Linked DNA regions of Homo sapiens: region 1 is linked to region 2. The links are contacts of gene promoters, found by promoter capture Hi-C in human tissues and cell types (Jung and others, 2019). All regions are on one chromosome and are shown on one strand. Each heading gives the region's core, a stretch centred on a gene start or on the middle of the fragment in contact. The rest is flanking DNA. Distances are from core to core; before and after follow the strand shown.

Evidence for each region. Contacts are between HindIII fragments. The study calls those that stand out against the background at their distance.
Region 1: a fragment that was not itself captured here is called in contact with the fragment with the promoter of PDGFRL in region 2 in 1 of the 25 tissues and cell types used here (aorta).

What each region holds. Positions count from the first base shown.
Region 1 is chr8:17,529,327-17,532,538 of GRCh38, reverse strand. All of the region lies in intron 2 of SLC7A2 (solute carrier family 7 member 2), which reads right to left. Among named protein-coding and RNA genes, the nearest start is that of SLC7A2, 34 kb to the right of the region's middle. The HindIII fragment of the contact is 3,060 bases long and covers 164-3,212 here.
Region 2 is chr8:17,575,518-17,578,560 of GRCh38, reverse strand. PDGFRL (platelet derived growth factor receptor like) reads right to left here and starts at 1,345. Exons shown (of 6, transcript NM_001372073.1): 1 at 1,254-1,345. The coding sequence starts at 1,308. RefSeq lists silencers at 940-989, 1,080-1,139. The HindIII fragment of the contact is 19,467 bases long and covers 1-3,043 here.

The DNA.
Region 1 (3,212 bases), core at 444-2,943, 46 kb after region 2:
AAGACATTTCAAAAAAAGCAAAAAAATAATCTAAAGGCAATTTCCAAACAAAATTCCAGGAGGCAAGGGGATACAGGTACAAAAGGACAAGTAAACTGGCCATTACCATAAAGCTTGATGTCTGTGGGTAAGGGAAGTCCAGGGTACTACTGGCACACACAGGAGGGGACTCCATGCTCACACTGGGATTGGGGTCAGGAGGCAGCAGGGAAGCTTTCCTGGGGAAAGCCATGACTAATCTGATTCTTCAGCCATTATTCCTCCCTAGAATTGCTGGGGTTTTTTTTTTTTTTTTTTTTTTTTTTTTTTGAGATAGAGTCTTGCCCTGTTGCCCAGGCTGGAGTGTAGTGGCGCAATCTCAGCTCACTCCAACCTCCGCCTCCCGGGTTCAAGTGATTCTCCTGCCTCAGCCTCCCAAGTAGCTGGGATTACAGGCACCGCCACCACACCTGGCTAATTTTTGTAGCTTTTTTAGTAGAGATGGGGTTTCACCACGTTGGCCAGGCTGGTCTCGAACTCCTGACCTCAGGTGATCTGCCCACCTCAGCCTCCCAAAGTGTTAGGATTATAGGCATGAGCCACCGTGCCCAGCCACATTTTTTTATTAACTAAGAAATATCCATAATCTTTAAGACTCATTTTGAAATTTTGACAATTTATTTAATCAGTCACTTCTAAAATCAATTAGAAGTCCAAATTTTCCTCTTTGTTACTTTACTTGAAACAATTCCTTCCTTGGAAAAAGATCTTGAATTTTTGCACAAAAATTTAATGGCAACTATAGTTATTTCCCTGATAAGTAGAAAAAAAAACCCTTAAAATAATCATATTAGTCTATAAAGTCTTAATCAGAAATTCCTAAAAACATGCATTTTGATTTTTAATTCTGAATAATAATAGCTTAAGTTACTATAAAATTTAAAATTCAAACCATCTCATAAATATAAAAACTATTTTGGAATCATTGATCAATAGGAATTTTAAAATATTTAAATAAAGTGTGAAAAGTAGGTTTTACAAAGAATATAATTCATAAAAATAAAAGGCATTAGACACCCTGCAATCTAAGCAAAAATTTAAAAAATATATCCATATACACATATATCATACTACTCATGGAGTTTCTCAAATTTCTTTTTAACAACACTCATTTTTTAATCTTTTGTTACCCCAAAACGAAACCTAAACTATAACTTATTTTTCTGTCCTCTAAAACCTTTATAGTGGCCTTGTATTACATACAATATACGGCCATTGTACAGCTGCAGTATTTTCAAATAAGAAGACTGTAAGAAGAGAGAGAAACTCCCTTCCTCCCCGCTCTTGCTGCTTCTTTATAAAGAGGAGTTTCATCTGACCTTCAGGTCTTTCAGCACTAAGATGCAGACAGAGAGAGAGATATCCTATCTTAGGCTCTGAATTACACCATTTCCAGGAAACCAGCCCTGTTATCTCCCAGCCCTGACTTTCAATGACAGAAGAGGAAGCAATTATTTGAAACCACACCGTATGGAGATTTGTAAATGAATTAGCCTTCCTTCATTTTAAATACGCTTAGAAATATTTAGAAATATCAGCATACTTTAAAATAACAATTAATGCTTATTAAATTTAAATTATTATATAAAGAATGAGATTTCAGTTTTAAGGCTTTGAATCTACTTACTGGCTGGATGCAGTAGCTCACACCTGTACTACCAGCACTTTGGGGGGCCAAGGCAGGAGGATCACTTGAGGTCAGGAGTTTGAGACCAGCCTGACCAACATGGCGAAACCCGTCTCTACTAAAAGTACAAAAATTAGCCAGGCATGGTGGCACGTCCCTGTAGTCCCAGCTATTCAAGAGGCTGAGGCAGGAGAAACGCTTGAACCTAGGAGGCAGAAGTTGCAGTGAGTCGAGATTGCACCACCGCATGCTAGGCTGGGTGTCAGAGAGAGACCCTGTCTCAAAAAAAAAAAAAAAAATCTATTTACTCACACTTGTACCTAATCTGCCTTCTGCCAACTAACTTCAGCAACTTGCCTGGGTTTCCAAACCATCCCTCTGTGACCTGGCCCCAGCCTGGCTTTCTAGCCCTGCATGTTGCTATTCTCCAACGAGTACTGTAGCCCAGTTTGTCCTCCTACTACCCTTAGCACATAAGTCTTCTGGCTCACATAAAGGTGAAAAGGTTTTGACTGAACTGCATGTATCCAGCTGCCCCCACCTTGCCCCCTTGCCCTCTCCCTCTGTCCCGGCTCCCAGGCCATCCGAGCTACTGCAGGGACACAGCAAGAAGGTTCTTTCTTATCCTCTCTGTCAGCTCCTGAGCTTTCCTTCTGACTCAAAGAAGCAGCGGCGGACCGGGGATGGGGGGCAGGGGGGAACGTAGAAAATTAAAGCTAAGAAACCAGGCTTATTTATATAGCACGGGGTAGGAGGCAGGGAAAAGCTAGCAGCCTGAAAAATGAGAACCTCCCGCTCATTCACCTGCCAAGAGAAGCCGGCAAGAGAGATAAGAGGGTGTGGAGAAGTGCTGGTGTTGAATGCAAATGGGGTCTCCTTCAAGACGTATTAGGTTGGTGCAAAAGTAATCGTAGTTTTTGCTACTGCTTTTAATGGCAAAACAGCAATTACTTCTGCACCCACCAGCCTAACACAAGGGAAGGTTGAAATTCCTTTTCAAGGGACTTTTGGCAGCTTCTTTGAAAATGTCCCTCTGGGCCAGGCGTGGTGACTCACACCTGTAATCCCAGCATGTTGGTAGGCCAAGGTGGGCGGATTACTTGAGGCCAGGAGTTCGAGACCAGCCTAGCTAACATGGTGTAAAACCCCATCGTTACTAAAAATACAAAAATTAGCTGGGCATGGTGGTGGACACATATAATCCCAGCTAATCGAGAGGCTGAGGCAGGAGAATCTCTTGAACCCAGGAGGTAGATAGAGGTTGCAGTGGGCCAAGATCACATCACTGCACTCCAGCCTGGGTGACAGAGCAAGACTCTATCTCTCAAAAAAAAAAAAAACAAAAAAACAAAACCAAAAACAAAGAAAATGTCCCTCCGTAGAGACTGAGCCCCATGGCACTTGGGTAGGATTGACACTTGCTTATACAATGTGTCCTCTTGCTCCCCCATCCCCAATGAAGGGAAAACTGCTATATATATACCATCACTTCTAAATAGTATTTCGCTGGCCATAAATGACTGGCAATTGAGCCCTAGAAATGAGC
Region 2 (3,043 bases), core at 96-2,595:
GGCCTGCCAGGAGCATTTTAATATTGCATTTTACAAACTGAACTCATGGCAACTTCTCTCTGGGCAGAGTTAAGTGTTACTCTCCCAGTAGAAGCTCTGCCTACGTTTTATTAAGCAAAGCTCTAGGCTGAAGGACCCTCATGCTCAACTTCAAGTACCACGACTATCTTGGATTTTGCAAACTACAATGCGGTATTTTTTTGGCAAATGTAGTTTCCTAGGAAAGAAAGGAACTGGTCAGGATGAACGAGTGGATAAAAATGTGAGCCAGGTCGAGCTGGCTCCAGCATGAAGTTGCATAACAGCAAAAGCTACTTTTCCACTAAATCTAAGCAAAAATTGTGTTGTAGCCCAGGAATTTCAAGAGAGGGTTGAGGACACCAGGAGGCACCCAGATGAAACATGTACTGTACAAATAACACCCATGGAGTGAATAGAGCAAACAAAACATTTAAATGCTAACAATAATATATAATACACACCACAGTAATACACACACCCAGACACACAGAAAAATAACACCAGACCCTGTGGTCACGGGTGTACACGACAGGGTGGACCCAGGACAGGTACACATTCAAAAACGCGCAGCGGTCATGGTCCCATAAGCTGTACCAAAAAAATGCATTTTCTTCACCATTTCCCATCCAATTAGATAAATATAATAAGCCGTGGGCTTTTGATTCGTTTTGAAGTTTCATACACTGACATTTTTGTTCGAAGATCTAGGCAGATCTTGCAGGATTCAAGCAAAAGGTGGTAGACGAAAACACGCCCAGAACTGCGAGGGGAGGGGGAGGTCACCTGGAACTCTGCAACCGAATCAGCGATTGCCGAGCTTAGGTGGCACTCGCTCTCAGCAGCAGAGGTCCCAGCCACGCCGCTGGGAGGTGGAAGCGATCCGAGGCTCCCGCCCCACCTCCCAGACCGACACGTTGACACTGGGGGCTGGACCAGGCGCTGGCTGGGGATGCTTGGTTCGCCCGGAGATGGGGACTTGGAGAGGTCCTGGTGGGCTCCTAAGGGTCGGGGTAGCTGCCACCACCCCTAGAGGGCTCTCCGGGCAGGCAAAGAGTGGGAGGAAAGGAGACCCCACCAGGAGGGGGCAGGTGCACCGGGCAGGCAGTGGCGCGGGGGCTGAGCCACCGAGGGCCGAACGTTAGACCAAGAGCTGGCAGGAGGGCGGCGGGGGCTTCGGGTCCCGGCTAAAGTCAGGGCACAAGCTAGGTGGCCCCGCGCCCAGAGTCACTCACCATCCTCCAGCGCTTCGTGCACCAGCAGAAGACCAAGCAGCAGCCAGACCTTCATCTCGGGAACCTCGGACCTCGGAGCGCAGGAGCGCGGCGGCTGCGCGGGGCGGGGACGCAGGGGAGGCGGCGGGCGAGGGGCGGGCTCCTGGGACGCCGAAGCGGGAGGATTCGGTTTCTTCAGGAGGAACAAGGTTTGGGGGAAAAAGTTGGGGAATTTTTTTTTTTTTTAGTTCTCTGTGTAATGTGACTTCTCCTGCCCCCTGGCGGAGCCGCGGTGCGCAGCACTTCTTCCCAGCGCGGGGAGGAAAGGCTAAGCGTGAAATGTACATTACAACAGCCATTCCTTGAATTTCTCCAACGCTTGGCGTTTTCACCAAGGTTATCAAGTTCAAGAAGGATCAGCGGGTGCTGATGGGGTCACTTTTAACCACGATTGTCCAAATGTTACCAGCGCCCGCCCCACCTCCTCAGGCAGAACCTGAGTGCTCTGTAAAAAGTGCTTCCTAAATTATTTCTGTTCATTCCATTTCTCTCCCCCACATGCACTCACTCACAGGACCGTTGCCCCGGGTTCTTGCTGCTCCTCTGTGTCTGGCCAGAGTTGGTCTCCGCACCCAGCCCTGTAACTGCTGGTGGGGGTGGGAGGACGGGTTCATTACAGGAATAACGTGGAAAATGAGACTGTGCAGACAACCCGGGCCTCTGGTGGTGAGGCAGGAGAACAGGGAATTAGGGTAAGCACGGGCTAGGGTATGAGCAGGAGAACAGCAGGTGCAGCCAGTTCGCAGAAGCAAAAGATCAGCAGGTGCAGACAGTTCTAGGCATGATTAGGCGGCACACAGGCCACATCCTCGCTCCTCTGATAACAAGGCAGAAGTTTCCACTTCAGCCTCGGACTGGTCGCAGGCCAGTCCTTCGTAAGGTGTAACCAGTTGGAGGCCTCTAAAGGGAACCCAAGGGTGTTGCCAAGTTCTTTTCGCTTTATAAAATCCCTGGGGAGCGTCAGGCTCTTGTGGCTTGCTGCAGCGCCCTCTGTGAATTGTCTTCTATAAATCTACGTTTTCCTTCCTCCCTTCTGTTGCTTTGTTTTTCCTTGCTTCTTTCTTTCGTTACTCCGTGCATTTCGTTCAATTTTTTGTTCAACAGGCCAAGAACCTGGACAACTCTATCAGGTAACAGTGGGGCAGAAGATACGGGCTTTCACAAGTCCCTCTGCAGAGAGCCATCCTGCGTTTCTGAGCTTGCAGACTCTCATGATCAAAGCAGTTTGCTAGCGGGGGAGATGCCTGTGTGTGTTCCCCCGGTGAGAAGCAGCCCATCTCATTGTAATCTTCAGCACCAGGCACTGCTATTAAAGGGAGCTCAATTCTAAATAACAGGAAAGGGACTTGTCCCTCAACACCCAACGAAAGAAGTGCTGCCATTTATAACAAACTAATGCTTCTCAGTCACTTCTGCAGGAGGAACCAAGAATTCTATATTCTGTTGCCAGCTCTAGCCGGAGCTTTGCCACTCGCTTGCCTTGCGATGCAGAGAGCAGTTGGCTGGGAATAAAGACCAGAGTTCAGATGCTGACACTGGCACAAACTCTCCATGCCTCTCAGAATTCACTTAACCTTCTGGGTTTTAGCATCTCTTGTTTATTAAGAAAGGGAACTAGGTGATTATTTCAACAGGAGTTTGCTATGTGATTAACATTACGGCTATGAAGGTTGAGACATCATCTCTCATGGCTACTTTTAAGGAGTGAACAAGCATTTAGACCACTGCAATGTGGTGTGTCAGGTTCTGGG